Regions from separate parts of the Homo sapiens genome. Here all the other regions are linked to region 5. Evidence: promoter capture Hi-C in 16 types of primary human blood cells and fetal thymus (Javierre and others, 2016). All regions are on one chromosome and are shown on one strand. Each heading gives the region's core, a stretch centred on a gene start or on the middle of the fragment in contact. The rest is flanking DNA. Distances are from core to core; before and after follow the strand shown. Region 1 overlaps ARFGAP3 (ARF GTPase activating protein 3). Region 2 overlaps ARFGAP3 (ARF GTPase activating protein 3). Region 3 overlaps ARFGAP3 (ARF GTPase activating protein 3). Region 4 holds the start of LOC101927393 (a long non-coding RNA gene). Region 5 holds the start of CYB5R3 (cytochrome b5 reductase 3).

Region 1 (2,700 bases), core at 121-2,620, 190 kb after region 5:
CTTGTTTGTCTTGTCTGTCACTATATCCCCAGCAGCTAGCCAACGCTTCCTGTTTATTAGGTGTTTAACAGATTTTTGAATAAACAAGTCAACTGGGTCTGTCCAACTCCAAAACCCATCAGGCTCTCTGCTTCTTCTCATAGGGCCTCCCAAACTTTCAAGTATTGAACTCTTTTTGTTTGTTTGTTTGTTTTTTTGGGATGGAGTCTCGCTCTGTCACCCAGGCTGGAGTGCAGTGGTGTGATCTCGGCTCACTGCAACCTCTGCCTCCCAGGTTCATGCAACTCTCCCGCCTCAGCCTCCCGAGTAGCTGGGATTACAGGTGTGCACCACCATACCCAGCTAATTTTTGTTATTATTATTTTTTTTTTAGTAGAGATGGGGTTCCACCATGTTGGCCAGGCTGGTCTCGAACTCTTGACCTCAAGTGATCCGCCCGCCTCAGCCTCCCAAAGTGTTGGGATTACAGGCGTGAGACACCACACCTGACTTGTTTGTTTTTTATAAACAGAGGGTCTTGCCATGTTGCCCAGGGTGGTCTTGAACTCCTGGGCTCCAGTGATCCTCCCAAACGCCTGTAATTTCAGCCTCCCAAATGGCTGAGATTACAGGCATGAGCCACTGCACCTAGCCTGAGCTTCTTTACTATTATAGCATAACAAATATTTAAACAAGAAGGAAAATGACGAGTTTGAGATGAACTTACTGCACTAGCGTTTCCTCCGACTTGCATGCATCGCAACTGAAACCATGACCAGTTGGAATCCAACTCTGTAGATCTAAATGGAAAGAATATTACTAACTGTTAATATTTTTTATCCCCAGGAGCAAAATCAGTGAGCTTTTGAGAACAAGGTTTCCTTAGGCTTTAGGATCCTAAAGAATTCTAAGTTTGTGTCAACAAGGACCCACACTTTTGGGATGCTAGGACTCCAGAGTGGATGATGGTTGGCGTGAGCAACCCCTGGCTCCTCTCGTCCTTCCTGGAATGCAGGGCACAGGGACATGACAAGTGTCAGCGGGCTGCTGGAACGACACCAACTCTTTGCCTCCCATCCTTGGTTGGATATGATTTGAAATTTGGTAATGTGTCTCTACTTGAAACAGATGCACTGTTTGGATGTTTTCAGGTCGGTGATCTACTTGTCCAGTTTGATCGCTACCAGAAGCTTGGAGGATGCTCATTCTCTTATCACAAGGTAGAAGAGACCTACCCAACATCACGACCAGCAGAGAGAGGAAAAAACACAAGATTTCATGCTCCTGAAGTGAAAGCTACAAGCACTTCCTGCCCCTTCCACACCTTATGCCTAACTTCTCTCCACTGTAAGATCAAATCTGAAACAAGTAAAGGCAGTGAGTATAGCCTCAACAATGCACATTCCCCAAGGGGTCGACGGTAAAGCAACAATGTTAGAATCTTTATACTGAATCCACAGAAATGAGCAAAAAGCAGAGGTTGTTATTCAGTAATAGCTTGCCCTACACTAACTGTAAAGGAATGTGGATATTTTAGAATGAGTATAGGCAGAATACCTTTTACAAAATGGGCAAGGAAGAAAGAAAAGAAAAGAAGCTTTAGGTCCACCAAAACTTTCCTTTGTGCTGCCCTTATATTTACTAATTTCTTTTTTTTTTTTTTTTGAGACAGGGTCTCACTCCATCACCCAGGAATGGAGTGGTGTGATCACAGCTCATTGCAGCCTCAACCAGGATTGCTCAAGCAATCCTCCTGTCTCAACCTCCCAAGTAGATGGTAGCTACCATGCCGGGCTTTTTTTTTTTTTTTTTTTTTGAGACGGAGTTGCCCCGGCTGGAGTGCAATGGTGCGATCTTGACTCACCGCAACCTCTGCCTCCTGGGTTCAAGTGATTCTCCTGCCTCAGCCTCCTGGGTAGCTGGGATAACAGGCAGGTGTCACTACGCCCGGCTAATTTTTGTATTTTTAGCAGAGACAGGGTTTCTTCATGTTGGTCAGGTTGGTCTCAAACTCCCGACCTTAGGTGATCCACCCACCTTGGCCTCCCAAAGTACTGTGATTACAGGCATGAGCCACCGTGCCTGGCCTTTTTTTTTTTTTTTTTTTTTTAAATAGAGATAGGGTCTTGTTATGTTGCCCAAGATGGTCTAGAACTCCTGGGCTCAGGCAATCCTCCCACCTCAGCCTCTCAGTGTTGGGATTACAGGTGTGAGCCACCATGCCCAGTGAACCATACCTTTTTTTTTTTGAGACACAGCCTCGTTCTGTTGCCCAGGCTAGAGTGCAGTGAGGCGATCTCAGCTCATGGTAATCTCTGCCTTCTGGATTCAAGCAATTCTTGTGCCCCAGCCTCCAGAGGTAGCTGGGATTAGAGGCGTGCGGAACCACACCTGGCTAATTTTCGTAATTTTAGTAGAGACGGGGTTTTGCCATGTTCGCCAGGCTAGTCTCGAACTCCTGGCCTCAAGCAATCCCCTCATCTCAGCCTCCCAAAGTGCATACCATTATTAATCTAGAGTTTTACTTATAGACAATCTCAGTAATTTCCCAGCCGCCCTTTGTTTATAACTTGTTTGATTACCTCTATAAGGTCATAAAAAGCGTTGCCTTTCTACGCCAACATCATAAAAAGGTTCTCCCCAGTGTCCACCGAGCAGGAGCCCAGATTCTGCCCTGGTCATCATCAACATGTTCTAGGGCTCACTATGTGCCAGGCTGTA
Region 2 (2,700 bases), core at 121-2,620, 170 kb after region 5:
ATTAGGATTAACGCCACTATGAACATTCATGCACGAGTTTGTGTGTGGTTGCACAGATGTAAGTTTTAATTTCTCTTGAGTATATACTTAGGAGTAGATTTGCTGGGTCACATGGAAACTTTACATTTAACTTTCTGAAGGACTGCCAAACTGTTTTTCACAACAGTGGCACCATTTCACATTGCCATCAGCAATGTACAAGGGTTCAAATTTCTCCACATCCTAGCCAACACCTGTTACTGATTTTTTTATTATAGCTTCCCTAGAGAGTACACAGTGGTATCTTATTGTGGCCTTGATTTGCATTTCCCCAACTCTAATAATGTGAAGCATGTTTCATGTGTAAACACCTCCATGCATCTCTGTCTTTCCCTTCTCACTGATGTCACTCCAGTCTTGCCCTTACAGCCTCAGCAGAGTGTTGCTGCCCCCATCGTCTCTTTCCCTTCCAATCCACATGCCAATGCAATATCAGTTTTCATAAAACTGAATTTTGCAGTACCCTCCCTTCCCCCCCCACACAAAAATACATGGCATTTGGAAAGCAAAATCTTGAGTTAATAGTTTTATTCCCTGAAAATGTATTAATATAATGAAATTAAACTTACATTGATTCTTCTTTAGATACCACCTTGGCCAGGTCTTCCTGCTCCTTCATTTTATCCGCAGCTTGAGCTTGTTTTTCAATTTCATTAAAGCATGTGTTTGCCAGTTTCTGAGCTCCCAAACTTCCTTTTTTGGCCCCAAGCTAGAACATATATAAGACTATAGTCTACACGAGCTGTTTGAAAGCTTCTGTGACTACAGCTAACATTTCCTAAGGGTTAGGACCTGCCAGGCACTGTGACAAGCACTCTACATTTGTTCTGTGGCTTAGTCCTCAGAACTCTGTGAAGTTAGTATTATTCCAGGAGTCCCTCAGCATGGGGGAATTGGTTTCACGACCCTGTGGATAACAAAATCTGCGATGATCAAGTCCCTTACGTAAAAGGGCGTAGTATCTGCATTTAACCCACGTGTAGCCTCCAGTATACTTTCAATCATCTCTAGATTACTTATTATGCCTAAATAATGTAAATGCTATGAAAATAGTTACTAATTCTGTGTTTTTATTTGTATTGTTTTTACTGTTGTATTCTTACTTTTTATTTTTTTTTACTTTTTTTGAGACAGGCTCTCATGCTGTTGACCAAGCTGGAGTACAGTGGCACAATCTCAGCTCACTGCAACCTCTGCCTCCTGGGGTAAAGCGATCCTCCCACCTTAGTATCCCGAGTAGCTGGGACTACAGGCACGGGCCACCAAATCCGGCTACTTTTTGTATTTTTTGAAGAGATGGGATTTCACCATTTTGCCCAGGCTGGTCTTGAACTCCGGGGCTCAAGTGATCCACCTGCCTCGGCCTCCCAAAGTGCTGGGATTACAGGCGTGAGTCACTACGCCTGGCCTATTGTTTTTTTTTCCCCCCCAAATAATTTTGATCTGCAATTGGTTGAATCCATGGATGCAGAACCCCTGGATACAGAGGGCTGAGGAAAGTAAAGCTCATATAAGTTAAGGAATGTGGCCAAGGTCACACAGCCAATACATGGCAAGGCCAGGATTCAAACCCTGCACCTGCCTCCAGAGCTGGTGCTCCGCAATGCTTCGCTGTATCTGAAAACTCACCAGACAACCACCCTCTAAGCCTCACAAGATGTCATTGCTTATTGATCTACACAAGCAGGAGACAAATTCCCAGGGGACCTTTGTTAATTTTTTTCAGAATTTTGTCATAGACAGAAAAAATGTTAAATAATCATTCTAGAAAAAATTCAATAAGTATAACATTAATCTCTTTGACATTAATCTCTTTGAACAAAACATAGACTCCTTATATCAAAGCTACATTTATTACAAGATGGTTCAAAAGAATAAAACTAAAATGACGAAGCGGCTTTTTAGTTTTAAAGCTTAACTACCAGATTTTTATATATAAAGTACATAATACTCACGCCTTTTTTAGCTTGATTTGGTTTCTTTTTTATGATAGAGGATACCTCTGCCAAAAAATAAAAATTAAAAAGTAAGACCAATAGAAATAATTTTTCTTTTTTAGTGTGTCTTTTAAAATTCTAAGATACTGCACTTTATTATTTAAGAGATGATAACATTTTCCACTTTAGTTTCTCATCCAGAAGACTCAAGTTGATAAGCATATTTTGGATTAACAGAACTTTGTCAAAATGGTGTCCTCAGTATTTCCACGCAGTCTCCAAACTCAGAGAAAATGTATTTTTTTTTTTAACAGCACACTGAAGAGAAATAGAGCCTGAGCTTGCCCCTCTCAGTACTTTCTTCAGGAGCATTTAAAAAATATATTACAACAACTTTTTTTTTTTTTTTGAGACAGGGTCTCGCTCTGTCACCTTAGCTGAGTGCAGTGGCATTACCTCCCAGATCAAGGGAGCCTTCCACTTCAGCCTCCTGAGTAGTTGGGATCACAGGTGCGCACCACCACATCTGGCTATTTTTTTTTTTTTTTTTTTTTTTTTTTAGAGATGGGTGTCTTGCTATGTTGCCCAGACTGGTCTTGGACTCCTGGGCTCAAGTGATGCTCCTGCCTCAGCCTCTCAAAGTGCTGAAATTATGAGTATGAGCCACCATGCCACAACTCTTTTATCAAGTGCTACTCTTCAAAAACTTTAAAACACTTAAAAA
Region 3 (2,877 bases), core at 329-2,828, 150 kb after region 5:
TTCTGTAGCTGTATCTTCTTACCTCATTCCACTTTAACTCTGTATACCGTATTGATTTGTGATGAGATGATTTATTATGAGAACTCTTAGGGAGTTCTCATCTTCCATTTCTCATCAATTCAAACAGCAACACCTTTCACAAGATAACATTAATTCCCTTGGCAGGGCAGAAGCTTAAGTTTGTTAAAAGCACTCACTGAAAAACATTTTTAAATTTATAGGTCATATAAAATAATTTACAAAGAGACAGATGACTTCAAATATTATTTGGCAGTCACCTTACTATGTAGAAACATAAATGAAGCAATCTGTCACACGAGACACCAGTCACTTTTGGTCTTTTGAAGGAAGTGTGTGTGGTGAGTGTTGTTTCTGCAGGCCCATCCAGCATCCGCTGATTCTGGCAGCCCTGAGCCCATGTGTCACATGGAGACCTCTCCTCCTCCCCCACATGAAGCCTCCTGGTTCAGGAGCAGGAGGAGCCGAGGTCTCCAGGCCCTCAGTGTTGAAATCAAAGGTTCCAAGAAAATAAAGCAAGGATATACACAGAGACGCCAAAGGAGGGTGTGACAGGAAGGAACGTGAAACAGAAATCACAGGAAAGCTCCTACATCAGAACTCAGAATTTCTCAAAAGAAATATTAAAAATCAGAAACATATACCATATGAAAAAGTAGCAAAACAATCTGCAAAACTATCTGGACTTCACTGCCGCCTGAGATGTGGTTACTTGTTCATTTAAAGAGGAATTTCTCCAGGAAATACACATCATGACTTCAGTATTAAGAACCGTAGCGATCCTGAAGAGAGAACCAAAATGGAAGTTCACGACCATTCAGCAGCGATCCCTGACTCCCACGCCCTGAATATTCAGCATCACCCAAATTGACACTGCAGCCCATGTCAGGCATGTGACATGGACGCTGCACCCCGAGGGTGTGCTCATCTGGAAGCAGCCATTGCTGCAGCTTCAAGGCTGAGGGTAGGTGTGGGCTTCAGAACCCAACAGGATTCACATCCTGCCTCTGGCATCCACGGCCACAGTCCTGGGATCAGGAGGCAGGGAGCAAAGTGGGCGGGAGGATGCTCAGTGGGCCAGAGGCAACTTGCTGAGCCCTCTGGGAAGCAAGTGGGAAACGGAAGACAAAGGAACACATTTGGTGTTTGAAGCCCTGAAATTTTGGTTCAGCTGGTCATCTTGCAGAAGTGACCTAACCTTCTGTGCCTCAATTCCTTCACCTGTAAAATGGGGATATAAAAGGGAGCCATCTCTAAAATGGGGATGACCATCTATAAAATAGGGATGTTACCTATTTGGACACTGATGTGGGCTTAGCTGACCTAAGGGACATGAAAGAGCTCTATGCATTTTAACTTCAGTGCCACATGAAAGGGAAGACTGTGCTATTCACAGCATGAAAACGGCTACATCCAGAGTCCTGGGGCTGAGGGAACTCTCCGGAATGGGTGCACCTCCACGCCCTCCTTGAACTGCAGCTAGAGCAGCATCTGCCTGGGGACCAGGAATCTCCTTTGGAGGCACCAGAGTCCACACGGTTTCAGTCCTACTTCCTTTAGCAGCGTTTTACATTAATACAATCCTTCTTCAATAGCCTGACGTAAACAAGAAGGTGCAAAGAAACGAGCCACTCATATCGTCACAGATGGCCTCGACTCTCATGCGCAAGTATGCGCCATCCTTGGCTTATGTTTTCACTCAATAGAATGTGGTTTTAGGAAAACTTTTCATTACAAGGAAATGCTCCCAGCATCACAGAGAAAAAGCAAGATATAAAACCCTCTATACAATATAATCCCTTTTTAACTTTAAAAAGATAGATATGTATATCTTTTTAATCTACGTATAGAAAAATATCCTTAGAAATCTAGAGCTAAAAATATACCAAAATATTAACAGAGGTTATCCCTGTGATGTGGCATTACAGATAATTTCAGTTTTCTTCTTAATACTTCTCTGTTCCAATCTAGGAAAAAAACTGGACAATGGTCATGACAATTCCTCTAACAATTCCCCTAGAGTCATCCGTTAGAAAATATTAAATATAAAATTATAATTTCTGGTTTTCATAATGTTCTGGGTTATAGTGTAGCAAACATATCGATCCAATAATATATAATTGAATTTTCCAGCAGTTGAAGATTGAAGCAGGTCTCATTTTCAAACTGCTGAACCTACCGTCATAGCCAGTGAGCACTGCCCCATTCCACTGACCTGAATTGAAGTCACGACTCCATTAGCAAAGACGGAGAGTTTTCCAGCAACCGATCTCACTCCCTGCTTGAACTGCGCCATGTCGGGGGCGTTGGGCAGCACACTGGACAGGCTGTAGTTCCCTGCACACACACAGCAGACACTGTCTCATCACTGCCCTGGCCACAGCTGCGGCAAACCCAGTACCCAGAGTGCTCAACGGCTCCAGAGAACCCGGATCTCTCCCCTCCTGCTGCCTCACAAGGGGCCCAACAGTGGGATGGAGACTCGGGCTGAAGTGGCAGCCCTGCCATGATCCACATGAGAGAATCCACACGACAGAAAATGTAGTATGGGGGACTTAACACCACTATGAGTTCAAATCCTGGCACTGTCACTTCTAGGCTGTGTGCCTCTAGAGAAGTTCCTTGCTCTCTCTGGGCCCATTTCCTCAAGGTGCTTAACATAGCCCTGGCAGGTAAGTACCCAGCAAAAGGCAGATGGGCCAACACGGATGGCCTGTTTCTCATCACCTCCTCCCTCTTTTGGTAACAGTACTCCTCCCTTCCTCCAGGAACCACCTCTCCCTTCTACCCTGTCCACAGGCATGGGCACATGACCCAGGCCTGACCAATCAGAGCCTTCCCAGGGATTCATGTATCCTC
Region 4 (2,700 bases), core at 121-2,620, 220 kb after region 5:
GCTCATAGGAGAGTTATGGGTGATGTCAGTCTTGTCCTGCTGTTTGGGCTGGGGCAATAGAGAGGCGCCAGCCGATGCCCGCACCATGTGGAAGCCCAGGTCAAACAGCAGCAGGTCTCGGGGAGAAGGGAACCCCAAGGGGCTCAGGTGCCTCAAATCCCCAACCTCCAGTTTGGCAGGGGCAGTGGGCCGTGGCCTTTTGGGCAGGGGTCCTGTGCCCTGGATCTTGCCCAGCTCCAAAGCTAGTAAGCCCCAGGGAGGCCACCCCCGCCAAGTGAAGTGGGCATGAAGACAGATGATGGCGAAGGGACTTCCATATGCACGAGATCAACTGTTTATTGATTTTTTTCCTCAAATACTACACATGTAAAGGAACTGTTAAACTGAAAAAGACTTGACAATTTTTGGTAAATCCGTAGCACAGAAATGAGGATTTCTGCTGGTAAGTTCTCAGGACAGACACAGACACAGGTCCACTTTCCAAGCAAGACATCTGCTCACTGGAAACGGAGTGAATGCATAGCTGGTGACGGCGGCGGGCACTGCTGAGTCACGTGAAACACAGGTTCCCCCACGTTCCCCCCACCCCCGCCGGCCCGCGTGGCCCCCGCGTAACTCTGGCTGCAGCACCTGCTCCCGGGCGACTCCGGGCAGCCCGAGACACTCGTGCTGCGGGTAAGACCCAGCTTCTGTTTGTGCACAAGTAACACGACGACTGAAATCTGCAACTACTGCAAAGACGCGGGCACTTTTACAGTGTTCTGCTACGGAGCCAGGACAAAGGCCGGTCAGAAGCCGGACCAGCAGTCAGCTGGTGACGACGAGCCTCCCTCCAGCAGGCACCACGTCAGAGAGGCCCCAGGCCCACTGAGCCCGGGAGGAGACCCAGCCGGCCAGCCAGACGTGTGCCTGAATGCCACAGACTTCAAGCAGTTTACAAACGAAACTCACTGTTAAAAGCTGTTAAATCTCATTAAAACAGTAGACGAGTGCTTTAGATTCTCTGAATATCAAATAATATATACAGATAGACACTGAGACATGACAGTCTAATCTAAAGCATCTTTACAGATGCATTTGCTTGAAAAGTTAGTCTTCTTTTTAACTCTGAATCAGTGATAAAATTGTTAATTTGCAAAAGAGTACAGTTTTAAGCAAGAATAGAGTGAAAATAATTTTTAAATATGGCGATTTGGGGGAGTTCTACCTAAGGTTCTATGTAAAGCTTCCATTCAGATGCCCAAAAGCACAAAGAGCATTCCCAATAGAAACCCGACCATAACCCGGTCCCACCTTCCTGGCATAATTCCTTTCCTCAAACATCTGCCACCTGAGGCTAAGCCTACACACGGCGTGGCTGAGTAACAGGGTAAGGGAATAGGGAGATCGTTTCCTCAAGACTGGTGCGCATCAATCTGTGCCATAATTTAAGTAGAAATGAACAGGTGTATAAAAAAGTATAACTGTACACAGCCTTTAAATTAAAAACCTCAAAATCTTCACTCAAAATGGGATGTAAGCTTGTTCATTTAAGTTGCAGGTGATGGACTCGTCAGAGAGAGTAATCAGTGGAACAAGATCAGTGTAACCCACCATTGACTCGGAAAGGAGAGACAAAGTCAAGAACATAGAGATCTATGATAGGCCAACAGGCACAGTGGGCGGGGAGGGGCGGCTATTTCTGTTGTTCTGCGTCTTCCTGCGCTCAGATCCCTCCAGCTGCACTCGGAAAGGTGCCGAGTCCCAGGCGAAATGACCAGCTCATCTGCCTTCCAGGAACACCATGAAGCCAAGAGCAATGGAACCATCATCTCTTGCAGGAAAAGGAGTGGATGCCCACGTGGCTGGCTGAGGCTCCTGGGCCCGCCGCCTCCGTCCCCCCGCTGGCCTGTCCCCGACTCATCACTGGATCGCCTCCACATAATTTGCCGGGTATAGGCCAACTTGCCCGTTGTCCAAGCGTCCCTTGCACCAGCCCTGCTCATCCTCGTCCTCCATCTTGGTCAGCTCATCCCCTGCAAGACAAAGAGGGAGCCGTCTCCATGAGAGGTATGACACCGACGGTGGGCTACAGAGCCGCATTCACGAGCTTTGAGCCCACAGAGGGTGGAGGGCCAGGCATTCTGTGGCGGGCAGGCCGAGGGCCTGGTCATTTCTCTACTAAATGCATGCATTTTAAGTTGCCTCTTTGGTCATGGGCCTCTGACAGACCTAGAGATGACAGTCTCACACAGTAATTTGGAACAAGCTGCTCTCAGCTGCCACAGTGGCTCCCACTGAGACTGCGGCATCCAGCTCCATAGGGCTGTGCCTTCCTCACCACCCTGGCCAGGTGGCAGGAATCGTCCCTCGGTTGTGCCCCTCCCTCACGTTGGGCCTCTTCTGTCCCCTCCCCAGGGCCCCGGCCGCCTTGCTCCCAGCAGCTGTCTCTGGGGTCTCTCTGCCTTTGCTAATCCCTCTCCTCTGCAACTTCCAGGCTGCGAGGGGAAGGGACCATGTCTGACAGTCATACCTGTCATTTTATCCCCAGCACCTGGCTGATGACTTGTGCACGGTGCCATGTGTCAACCCTTCCTGAGACCCTGAGAAGGAGCCCCTGGCGCTGTTCTGGAATCTCCCTGTGGCTCTAATGTATTAACGTGGTTCCATTTATCTTTGGTTGTTCCAACCTGAAGGACCTCCTACTTCTGGCCAGGCCTT
Region 5 (2,826 bases), core at 271-2,770:
AAAAAGAAAAAAGAAATGTATGGAGCAGCCAGGTGCAGGGGACGTGGCCATAAATCCAACCACCAGCTGGAAGGTATGGAACACCACCAAAAACAGCAGGGAAGGGTTGGGTGGAGACCAGGGGAAGCTTTAGAGACACAGGCAGGACATTTCAACAATAAAGGAGGCAGATGCTTTCTGGGGAAAAATGGGCCGGGTGTTGCATGGAGGTTGGGGTGATGCCCACAGGTTCACCCTGGCCAAGGTTGCCTGGGGTCTGAACATCCCGAAGTTCTGGGTTGGGCCACACTTTCCTTAGCAACCACCCAAGCCAAGAGGCCTTTTGCCTGGATCCCCAAGGAGGAGACTCCAGGTCCTCCCCAAGGAGGGAGGACCCAGGTGCCCTCCAAGTGGCAGATGCCAGGCATAGAGGTAGAGGTGGAGGTGGAGGAGCACTGGGCTGATTCCTCCTGTGCCAGCCTCCCCACGCCTAGCGGGTCACAGTTGACAGGAGAGCTGCCCTCTGCAGCCGCAGCCTCCACATGTCCACACAGACTCAAGCCTCCAGCCTCACCATGGTCAACTTTTGAGAAACTGGGGAGAGGAGGTGGCCTGGGGGGAAGGGAAGGTGGCTCTAGGCCAGCCCAGGAGTGACAGCAGCAGAGTGGACTTTGAAACCCCATGGAGCAGGCTCCTTCCGGCGGCAGCGTTGTGGGACGGTGGCCAAGACTAGTTTGCATTTCCCCATCTGTGAAATGGGGCAAACAGCACTGACACCGCAAAGTGTGAGGTCCCCAGCACAGCTTGCAGGGTCAGTGGGAGCCTGGCCTTGATGGGAGCCTGGCCCACTGAGCATTGGGAGGATGCCCCCGTGTCATCCGGGTTCTGTTCCTTGTTGCTAAACGTGCAAAACCCTCTGACATAGTGACATCGCACACACACACACGTTCAGTCGCAGTCAGTGACATCGCCCATTCACATACTCCCGTACACACACACACACCCCATCACACGTTTCCATGCCCGCCCTTCACACCCACGGTCACACTCACACACACATTCACTCTCAAGCCATTCACACGCTCGCTCACACACTCACACTCAGCGGCACACACGCTCACAACCACGGGTCCCTCCAGCAGCCAAGGCCCCACGGCGGCCAGGGCAGGGCCCAGGTGCCCCCGGGTGCTGGGCTCTGGCGCGCCCCCCGGGCAGGAGGGCTGGGTCCCCGCTGCAGACTGCCAGGGCGTAAGTAGCGGTCACCACGTAGCTCGCCCAGGCCCTTGTGGGGTGGGGTGGGGCGCGGCGGGCTGGGCGGGCGAAGTGGGTGCGGCCGGGTGCGGCCCGGGTCCCGCGTCACCTCCCGCAGGCCAGCCCGCCCCCTCGCCGCCGGGTCCCAGTCCCTCGCGACGCCCCGCGGCCCCGGCGCCCCCTCCCCGCCTACCGTGCTGAGCTGGGCCCCCATGGTGGCCCCGCGCCGCGCTCGCTCTGTCGCCGCCGCCGCCGCCGCCGAGACCGTCGCGCCCGGGCCCGCGTCACTCCGGAGCAGGGGCGGGGCCGAGGGGCCAGGCGGGCGCGCGGGGCGGGGCGGGCGCGGGGGCGGGGACCGGGTCGCTCCGCCTGCTTCTGCCGGGGATGGAGACTGGGAACTGGGGATGCGGCCCTCTGCGCTCCGAGCTCTCCCGCCGCTGTGCTGCCCCGCGCGGGACGGTGGCCTCTCTGGGCCTCGTTCGCCGCCATAAAGGAAGCAAGATGGCGCCCCCCGGATGGGAGCGAGAATAAGAGGCGGAATCTTCCCCCGGCCTCCGAGACTGCAGGGGCCGGTCCTGCCTGGCCTGGCCTGGGCCTGTGCCTGCAGCTGCTCAGCGCGGCCCTTCCCCGGGCCTTTGAATTTGTAGTTCCCTGGGCAGCACTGTTCCCAGCTGCCTCGGGCCGGGTTAAATGCTGCGGTCTCAGCACGGCCCGCCCGGAGCCTCCTCGCCGGCGGCGCCTCCGCTCCCCACGCCATTGTCCCACTGTGGAGTGATCTTTGTCCCACTTAGCTGAAGGCCTCCTGCGTGTTTCCCCCACTCCCACCCCATCCCAGTGGACTGTGCGCTCCCGGAGGGCAAGGCCCTATCTGGTTTGAAGTCCCGTACATCCCCAGAGCCTAGCCACACAGAGCCTAGCATATAGTAGGTGCTCAATAAATACCTTTTTTTTTTTTTTTTTTTTTGGTAAAGCAGGGTCTCACTCTTGCCCAGACTGGAATGCAGGAGCCTGATCACAGCTCACTTTAGCCTCAACCTCCCAGGCTCAAGTGTTCCTCCTGCCTCAACCTCCTGAGTAGCTGGGCACATGCCACCACGTCCGGCTAATTGTTTTTTTTTTTGAGACGCAGTTTCGCTCTTGTTGCCCAGGCTGGTATGCATTGACGCGATCTCGGCTCACCGCAAACTCCGCCTCCAGGGTTCAACAGATCCTCCTGCCTCAGCCTCCCGAAATTACAGGCATGTGCCACCACATCTGGCTAACCAGCTAATCTTTTTTTTTTTTTTTTTTTTTTTTTTTTTGAGACAGAGTCTCGCCCTGTCCCCCAGGCTGGAATGCAGTGGCGCCATTTCGGCTCAATGCAAGCTCCGCCTCCAGGGTTCACGCCATTCTCAGCCTCCCGAGTAGCTGGCACTACAGGCACCCCACCGCGCCCGGCTAATTTTTTGTATTTTCAGTAGGGACGGGGTTTCACCGTGTTAGCGAGGATGGTCTCGATCTCCTGACCTCGTGATCCGCCCGCCTCGGCCTCCCAAAGTGCTGGGATTACAGGCGTGAGCCACCGCGCCCGGCCTAATTTTGTATTTTTAGTAGAGA

What was found. Contacts are between HindIII fragments. The CHiCAGO score rates a contact against its expected background, and 5 or more counts as called.
Region 1: a contact is called between a fragment that was not itself captured here and the fragment with the promoter of CYB5R3 in region 5, in 1 of 17 cell types (endothelial precursors). The highest score is 10.2, in endothelial precursors.
Region 2: a fragment that was not itself captured here is called in contact with the fragment with the promoter of CYB5R3 in region 5 in 5 of 17 cell types (endothelial precursors, M2 macrophages, erythroblasts and 2 more); the score reaches 8.5 in endothelial precursors.
Region 3: a fragment that was not itself captured here is called in contact with the fragment with the promoter of CYB5R3 in region 5 in 4 of 17 cell types (endothelial precursors, M2 macrophages, megakaryocytes and 1 more); the score reaches 8.4 in endothelial precursors.
Region 4: a contact is called between a fragment that was not itself captured here and the fragment with the promoter of CYB5R3 in region 5, in 3 of 17 cell types (endothelial precursors, total B cells and megakaryocytes). The highest score is 6.5, in endothelial precursors.

The regions. Positions count from the first base shown.
Region 1 is chr22:42,840,238-42,842,937 of GRCh38, forward strand. It overlaps ARFGAP3 (ARF GTPase activating protein 3), which reads right to left. Exons shown (of 16, transcript NM_014570.5): 3 at 707-779. Among named protein-coding and RNA genes, the nearest start is that of ARFGAP3, 16 kb to the right of the region's middle. The HindIII fragment of the contact is 407 bases long and covers 1,168-1,574 here.
Region 2 is chr22:42,821,662-42,824,361 of GRCh38, forward strand. It overlaps ARFGAP3 (ARF GTPase activating protein 3), which reads right to left. Exons shown (of 16, transcript NM_014570.5): 8 at 1,995-2,041; 9 at 609-748. Among named protein-coding and RNA genes, the nearest start is that of ARFGAP3, 34 kb to the right of the region's middle. The HindIII fragment of the contact is 1,160 bases long and covers 791-1,950 here.
Region 3 is chr22:42,796,806-42,799,682 of GRCh38, forward strand. It overlaps ARFGAP3 (ARF GTPase activating protein 3), which reads right to left. Exons shown (of 16, transcript NM_014570.5): 15 at 2,234-2,355; 16 at 1-800. The coding sequence ends at 783. Among named protein-coding and RNA genes, the nearest start is that of ARFGAP3, 59 kb to the right of the region's middle. RefSeq lists an enhancer at 2,738-2,877. The HindIII fragment of the contact is 2,814 bases long and covers 172-2,877 here.
Region 4 is chr22:42,869,455-42,872,154 of GRCh38, forward strand. PACSIN2 (protein kinase C and casein kinase substrate in neurons 2) reads right to left here. Exons shown (of 11, transcript NM_001184970.3): 11 at 319-2,015. The coding sequence ends at 1,903. It overlaps LOC101927393 (a long non-coding RNA gene), which reads left to right and starts at 1,960. Exons shown (of 3, transcript XR_001755575.2): 1 at 1,960-2,049; 2 at 2,531-2,631. The HindIII fragment of the contact is 295 bases long and covers 1,224-1,518 here.
Region 5 is chr22:42,647,872-42,650,697 of GRCh38, forward strand. CYB5R3 (cytochrome b5 reductase 3) reads right to left here and starts at 1,521. Exons shown (of 9, transcript NM_000398.7): 1 at 1,424-1,521. The coding sequence starts at 1,444. RefSeq lists silencers at 1,032-1,381, 1,402-1,591, 1,902-2,001 and an enhancer at 1,696-2,509. The HindIII fragment of the contact is 5,222 bases long and covers 126-2,826 here.